Linked DNA regions of Homo sapiens: region 1 is linked to region 2. The links are contacts of gene promoters, found by promoter capture Hi-C in blood cells and fetal thymus (Javierre and others, 2016). All regions are on one chromosome and are shown on one strand. The core of a region is centred on a gene start or on the middle of the fragment in contact, and the rest is flanking DNA. Distances in the headings are between cores, read along the strand shown. Region 1 overlaps MED12L (mediator complex subunit 12L). Region 2 holds the start of SERP1 (stress associated endoplasmic reticulum protein 1).

What was found. Contacts are between HindIII fragments. The CHiCAGO score rates a contact against its expected background, and 5 or more counts as called.
Region 1: a fragment that was not itself captured here is called in contact with the fragment with the promoter of SERP1 in region 2 in 2 of 17 cell types (fetal thymus and erythroblasts); the score reaches 6.7 in fetal thymus.

Annotation. Positions count from the first base shown.
Region 1 is chr3:151,086,360-151,089,969 of GRCh38, reverse strand. MED12L (mediator complex subunit 12L) reads right to left here. Exons shown (of 45, transcript NM_001393769.1): 2 at 2,945-3,172. The coding sequence starts at 3,043. Among named protein-coding and RNA genes, the nearest start is that of MED12L, 2.5 kb to the right of the region's middle. RefSeq lists a silencer at 3,554-3,610. The HindIII fragment of the contact is 1,295 bases long and covers 1,204-2,498 here.
Region 2 is chr3:150,544,530-150,548,432 of GRCh38, reverse strand. It overlaps SERP1 (stress associated endoplasmic reticulum protein 1), which reads left to right and starts at 1,937. Exons shown (of 3, transcript NM_014445.4): 1 at 1,937-2,381; 2 at 2,655-2,730. The coding sequence starts at 2,298. EIF2A (eukaryotic translation initiation factor 2A) reads right to left here and starts at 1,646. Exons shown (of 14, transcript NM_032025.5): 1 at 1,603-1,646. The coding sequence starts at 1,630. RefSeq lists enhancers at 1,339-1,878, 1,151-2,350, 1,796-2,426. The HindIII fragment of the contact is 4,802 bases long and covers 1-3,170 here.

The DNA of each region.
Region 1 (3,610 bases), core at 602-3,101, 540 kb before region 2:
AGAGCATCTGGTGGATTGGAAATATATTTTGGAACTGAACAGGATGTGCGCATGGATGTAGAGACGCTGATGGATGAATGGGGTATAAGCAAGGAGGAGGTCTCAAGGATGACTGCCAGTTTTCTGATTCCCTGCTTTAAAGGCTTGAGCACAGTCTGTTTGTAGGAAGCAAAGTATTATAACACAATATATAATGAAGTCCTACAGGATGCTGATGCACAGCAAGCTCTCAAAAAAATATAACCAATCCATCAGGCAGGTTAAAGCTTCCATATTCTCCCCCCCGCCCCACCCCCATACTTCTCCACATGGGTCTTCGTTCATGGGTTCCACCCTACCTTCTGGGAGCCCTTTTCTGAAATATATTACCACTGGTTAACAACAACAATAAAAATTACATTTATGGTGACAAGAATAACTTCTACCAGGAGGAGGGCTTTTCTCACACAAATGTTGGTTTGAAATTTTTTCTGAAGTGCACAAACTAATTTACAAATGAGAGGCTATGCAACTTGCCCAAGGCCACACAATTGCAAAAAAAAAAAAAAAGCTAAATCCAGGTTGGCCCAACTTGGAAGCCCACACTTCCTCCATTAAATCAGCATTTTCCACCACAGCTATCTCTAATGGAACACAACTGTTGTTTTCGATACACAGATGAACTTTTAAAGTGTTAATAGTAATGGTCTCATTTTATTATGTATAATCATATACGTGTGTGCATGTAATATCAAATAGATTAAAAATAGTATGTAAACATGATTTGATATAAATTTTATATATACATATATTTCAATAAATCCATGACTCCACGTGTAGTACTGCCCAGGAAACACAAAGTTTCTTAAAAAATTAGTTTAAAGAAAACTTCAGAATAAAAGTACAGGTGGTACAGGGGTAGGGTAGAAATCTTGAGGGAGGTAGGACATAAATAACTAAAGCTTAGGAAACTCTACTCACCAACCACCCAAGAACAGCCAAGCACCTGTTCCATATTGTACCCAAATTTGGCTACAGCCACACATAACTCTGTCTGCTTGGGAGAGTTAAAACATTGGCTGCCTTGGGGGAAAGGGGATAACATCAGAAGATAATTTAGCATAAATCATCCTCAAAGCAGTATTAGTTTTGACATAAATACTGGTTTGGTGGTACAACTCCTCTGCTTATTCACCTATACACCTTGGTTAAACGAGTCAAGCTTTCCCAGGCCTGTTTCACTTAGTCAAAAGGAAGTTATAGAAAGTAGTCCCTAAGGTCGCTTCCAGTTTTAGAACTCCATAAAATGTTGTGAGACCCTGAAATCCAAAATTACTCTTTCCAGAATCAGAGGCCCCAGTCGTGAAATGAGCATTGGCCTGAAGAACAAATGCTAAATAAGCCCACACAGCACCCCAAGCCATCATGCCATCAATTATGCTGCCCTCTGGAAAGACAGAGTAAGACATTAATTACAAGATGATAAAGTTCAACCAACAAAATATCCCTGTCCCTATCAAAACTTTAAGAATTTCCTCCCAATAATTTTTAAGCTATTAACTGTACACTTGATCCTCAGCTTCTCTATTATTTCCAGTCCTTAACCATTAACTTCATTCTAAGTTGGGGTAGCAGGGTGGGGTAACGGGTAGGAAAAAAAATCTGGGAAATCTTCTCAAACCTCTACCATCCTGTAAAGCTGGTGCTGGAAACCACCTGTAAAACCTTCCCAGCTTTCATCTGCGTGACTCCACTGATGCTAGAGCATATTTAGTGTGCTAAACCTCTAAAAGGAGTTGCTGTTCCTTACTTCTCAGACACTTTATAAGCAAGACAGTTTAGCCAGAACAAGCACTTACTCTCCTAATGAAAGATACACTTATCAAAAGGAAAGTCTTAAGGACCCCTCCTTGCCTGGTTTACAAGGCCCTTTCTGTGCTATCAGTGGGCCCACAAACTTTTAATGGAGGGTTTTTAGATTCTCAGAAAGGTAAGTTTTGAAATATGGTCAGTTCGTGTTTAGCTGAACAGAAGATGGGTGGACTGCAGCTGGCAAACTCAGAAAGCACTGCTGGGTAGCAGGTGATCAAAAAAAAAACAAAAAAAAGGCAAGTCCCTGGGCAAATGGTGTAGCCAAAGGTGATCATTATAACTAGAGACTTGTTACATAATTACTTGTTAACTCCTGACAAACAGATACACAGCTACAAAATGCCATGGTTACCCTAGCCATTGAAGCTAATGTAGCTGGTGCAAGAGTCAAGGTGTCTCCAATTAATCTCATTCAAAGAAATAAGCAATCCTGGGAACTATTCCCTCCCAAGGTAACTCGCCTGCTTTTACGTATACAAAACAGCCTCTAGCAATTAAGCCCATTGCCTCTAGAGACGAAAATCAGTGTTTCTCCTTAATTTTAATTTTTAAAGGGCAGAAGGGTTACAGAGGTATATTCAGAGAGCTAAATATTTATCACTTCGATAAAAACGACTTCCATTCCAAACTGGAAAATTTGAAAAGCTTCCCCCTCACCTTCGTCCCTGGCCAGCAAAAGCAAAACGCAAGACCTCAGTGTAGGATGCACTGCATTCCAACATTTTTCAAAAAGTTTACGACGATTTACCGAAGCGGCAAGAAGAAAAATAAAGCAGGCAGAAACGGGTGAGAGCGAGCAAGGTTTCGGCAGGGAAGAAGCCCGAGAAGCGCCCGGCGGCGCCGTGCAAGGCCCGGCAACGGGAAAGCGACCGGCACATGGAAAGCGAGCGCCCCAGTGGAGCGCGGGGACTGACAGCCGCTCGGTCTCCGCCGCCGGGGGGTCGCCCAGCACCCCCAGCCTGGCCCCCGCCTCTAATCCCCCTCCCCGACCTCTTCCACCGCAGCGCCGGCGATGCCCGCTGGGCCAACTTGGCCCCGGGTCAGTGCTGCAGAGCGCGGCCCCGGTTGCCGGGGAGGCCGCCGGCGCCCTTACCTCCTTCTGCTTGGGGTCCTGTGGGTAGACGTCGGGCGGCCCGAGCCGGGGGCGCTTCAGCGGTCTCTGCTCATAGCTGAGAAGCCCGAAGGCGGCCATGATCTCTCATGTTAACCGGCGAAATGAATGAGAGTTGGAGCTGGAGCAGCCGCCTCTGAGCACCAGGGAGCAGCACTTTGCAGACAGACTCCCTCTCTCCCCCTCCTCGCTCGCTCGCTCGCTGTGGCGCTGCAGGCAGGAGGAATAAAGCAGGTTGGATGCTGCCGCTGCCCGGCAGCAGACACGCACTGATGGGGACAGCCTTCGGCGGGTACTCGGCTGCGCTCGAGCCCCGGGACGCACCGCTCCGGTGGCGGCGGCGGAGGGACTAGAGGTCGGCCAGGGTCCTCCGCGGCGCCTGCCTCCTCTGCTCCCCCCTACCTTGTCTCCAGGGGGAGGAGCAGCTGATGGGAACGTGTGACTTTTTTCACCAATGGACCCAAACCCACCCCAGCTGGGCGCAGGATGGGGGTGGGGGTGGGGCACTGGAAAAAAAAAAAAAAAAACTTTTCTTGGCGCCTAGGCTGGTGGCTGAAGTGCTCGCCCAAGGCGAGGGTGGCCCTCCCCTCCCGGGAAGAAGCTGTGGAGCGGACCGCCCCCGCCTCTCTTCCCCGGCAGGGACCCTTC
Region 2 (3,903 bases), core at 688-3,187:
CTCACAGTCTAGCAGGGGAGAAAGGCAAGTGAATGTCTAATTATCCTACTTAGTAAGTGAAATAAAATTTCAAATATATTTCAGGTACAAAAATAGCCCAGGAAGTGACTGACTCTATCTGGGTAGAGTGACGAAAGGCTTCACAGAGCAATGATATCTAAAATGAATTTTAATTTCAACAGATGAAAAAGAGTTTGCCAAATCAACAAGAGGCATAGGATAGTACTAGACTGAAGAAACAGGTTGTTCAAAGGGACTCAGAAGCAGTTCAGTATTGATGGAGCACCAAATAAGATGGGATGGCAAGGAAATAAATGAGTCTCAAGAGCAATTCAAAGATTATAAATGGTTACATAACTATGCTACATAGGATGGAATCTACCCTGTAAGCAGAGAGGAACTACCTACTGTAGGCATTTTTAAAGGAGGGGTTATTTATCAGATTTTAGAATGTAATTTTTTCATTAGAGTTCAAATAAGCATTTAGTATTAAAAATTGTGAATAACAAGCTACCTTTACAAACCTAAAAAAAAATTTATTATGTAACTTTGCCTTTTAAACAGTCTTTGCCTGGTATATTATCTAGAAGATTATACTCGGCGTTTGATAAATGATGACTAAACTGCAGAAGACAGACTGAGCATCAGTGGGCATGGCGCTTAATAACAAAGATTTTAAAATGTAAAAATAGAAATGTAGACTGGCAAAAAGTGCAAAAATGTTTTAAGGTTCCTTTCGCGGGGGGGAAGGGAGGGAATAGCCTCCCTCCTTAAATGCAGACAACCTTTCTCTTAATGACTTTTTCCTTCTATATAGTTATCAGAACTTAACCAAAACCTTCTTTTCCTTCCCGACTCTCTTTTCCTTACGTAATACTCATATGCAGACTCTTAGCCACACCCTAGTAAAGCAACTTCCCCAGCATTTTCCAATCTAAGTTTATTATCTCCTCCAACACTACAGTCTTTAGCTTCAAAATTTCAAGAGTCCTCTAATGTTCTATTTCTAATATGCTCATAACCATTTCAAAATCAAATGTTGCTAGAATATCTCTATCATGCTCACTGCTACACCCTCTCCCAACCACACCTTCATCATTTGAAACCTGCATTACAGCTCCACTCTCCCTATTCAGTCCTACAAACCTCATTAAGGCAGGAAGGCCAGAATCTGGAATTACTTAAGTCCAGGTGTATTTAAAGTGCGTGATCATTCTAGAGGACTAACTCATGTTTGTCTTTGTTCTTATTGTAGACCTAAATGACTTCACAAGGGCCCGTGTAACACCAGTATTGCAGACCCATGTGTCACAAATTCAACTAGCACATTGTTTTTCTCCCCCTTCTTCTATTTCTGTAGAAGATGAATCCGCAGGCAAGAATGATGGATGGGTGAAAGGGAGGGGGAATACGAAAGCCCAGAGGCGGAGACTTCACTTCCGATTGCCACGCTATATCAAGAAAGCCAACAGTCTGGCCTTTCCGCAAGCCACAAGAAAAGGCAGATCAGACTCCCCGGCTCCTCGGGTAGTTCTCAAAGGCAAAGACAAAAATAAGAAACTAGTCTGAAGAAAGAGAGTCCCTCGCTTCTTCAGAACTCACCTGTCAAGAGCGGCGTGGACGGCGCCATGTTGTCCCGGAAAGAGAAACCGCTCGGGTGAGAGTTCACCAGGGCCGAACCCGGCCCCTACACGTCTCCTCATGCGTGGAGACAGCGAATTGGTGTTTCCGGAGCCATCAGCCTCGGGGCCAATTCACTTCCGGTTACGGAGTGACGCGGAAAAGGCGCCCAAACGCGCACGCGCAAATCTAGGGCGACGCTTGACAGAGCTTGGGAGGGTGCGCCTGCTTTCGCCCTCCTTCTCCAGCGGGAGGGGCGCGCACTTCCGCGGGGCGGAGTCCGTCTAGTGCTGACGTTGGCAGCCGAACCCAAAGTAGATCGAGGCGGCGGGCTGCACATTCCCGTTGTTGCGTTGCGTTTCCTTCCTCTTTCACTCCGCGCTCACGGCGGCGGCCAAAGCGGCGGCGACGGCGGCGCGAGAACGACCCGGCGGCCAGTTCTCTTCCTCCTGCGCACCTGCCCCGCTCGGTCAGTCAGTCGGCGGCCGGCGCCCGGCTTGTGCTCAGACCTCGCGCTTGCGGCGCCCAGGCCCAGCGGCCGTAGCTAGCGTCTGGCCTGAGAACCTCGGCGCTCCGGCGGCGCGGGCACCACGAGCCGAGCCTCGCAGCGGCTCCAGAGGAGGCAGGCGAGTGAGCGAGTCCGAGGGGTGGCCGGGGCAGGTGGTGGCGCCGCGAAGATGGTCGCCAAGCAAAGGATCCGTATGGCCAACGAGAAGCACAGCAAGAACATCACCCAGCGCGGCAACGTCGCCAAGACCTCGGTAAGGAAAGAGCGGGCGCCCCTCTGCGTTCCGCAGCCGGAGCTGAGTCCGGGTCCCTGGGGCCGCGTCGCGTTTTCTCCCGGATCCGGCCGACCGTGGGCTGGTGCCGTGGAGGGGTAGGGGCCCGAGTCTGCGAACCGCCAGACTGTGGGGGCTCGGGAACGGAAGGGGAGACCTGTGAGGTGAGGGGGCCGGCGACCGGCGTGCAGGCGTGGGAGCCTGGGGTCCGAGTGGTTTCTCTGCATCTGAAATGGTGGATTTTCGCTTTTGCAGAGAAATGCCCCCGAAGAGAAGGCGTCTGTAGGACCCTGGTTATTGGCTCTCTTCATTTTTGTTGTCTGTGGTTCTGGTAAGTGGCTTGGGGGCTCCCATCAGGTAGAGTCTTGGGTTGAAAGGATTTGGGATGACGTGGTGACCGGTCAGTAGTGAGTCCTACCTGCGTAGTTCTCAACCCACCTGCCGAGGACTCCACATAATTCTGTTTCGTCTGAACCAAATTACTTGTTCCACATATGCACAGAGGGTGGTGCTCCAGAAACTTCTCCCAGCTTAATTTGTACTCACAGGAGATCAAAAAGGAGGTCAGGTCTTGGTAATGATCCAGTTGGAATAAATGTTAAGACCGGACAAAACCTAACGAAATGAGAATTTAGAATGTTTTGTAACTCCATTATCAGTCTTTGCAAAGAAAATTATAAATATGTACTATAGATGTTAGAACTTGATTTAACATATACCAGAATCTAATGTCTTAATGTCAAAATTGAGTATATTTTATAAAATAAAGCTTGTGCAAAGAATTGATTCACTATAGAGGAAATTACCTGATTGGCATTTTAATGTGTGAGTCAAATGTTTTTAGGTTAATAAAAGAAACGTTTGATACATGGTTTAAAAAAAAAGTGTCGGGGTAGCCTGCTGTCCCCTAAGAGTAACAGACACTTGCCTTTGCAAATAGATTACAAAAAAAAGGTCTTTCCTCTCTTCATTTATCATTTTAATATGCAAGCTGTTAATATTGAAGTAGATGTTTGTTTTCCACATTCTAAAATTACTGAGATTTCTGTTTAACGTTTCACTTTGCCTTTCTTCTTCACTTACCAATTGGAAGCTTTCCTGATAAATGGATGAGAGCCAAGCAGTTTATATAACCTGAAGATGATTGAATTTCAGCTTTGTGAGAATGAGGAAACATGCATGTGTTACAGGCCAGGCCTTAAAAGGATGCTTATAAACCAAAATAATTCTATGCTGGAAAAACCTGTTGGCTTTGGTGCTTTAAGTTCTTTGTAAAATGATTACTTATCTGCAAGTTCTCTTGGATACTTAGACATAAAGTTCAGCGAAGCTAAGATAAAAAAATAACTCAGGGATATTTCATTGTTTTATTTATTCAGACAGGCCTGTCTTCACTTCTTATTATACTGAAGTTATGTACCATTTGCAAATGTAAGAGTACCTTTGGATTCTTCAGCTACCTTAATAAATATTTGTTAGACACCAGACCTATTTTATTCAAAGC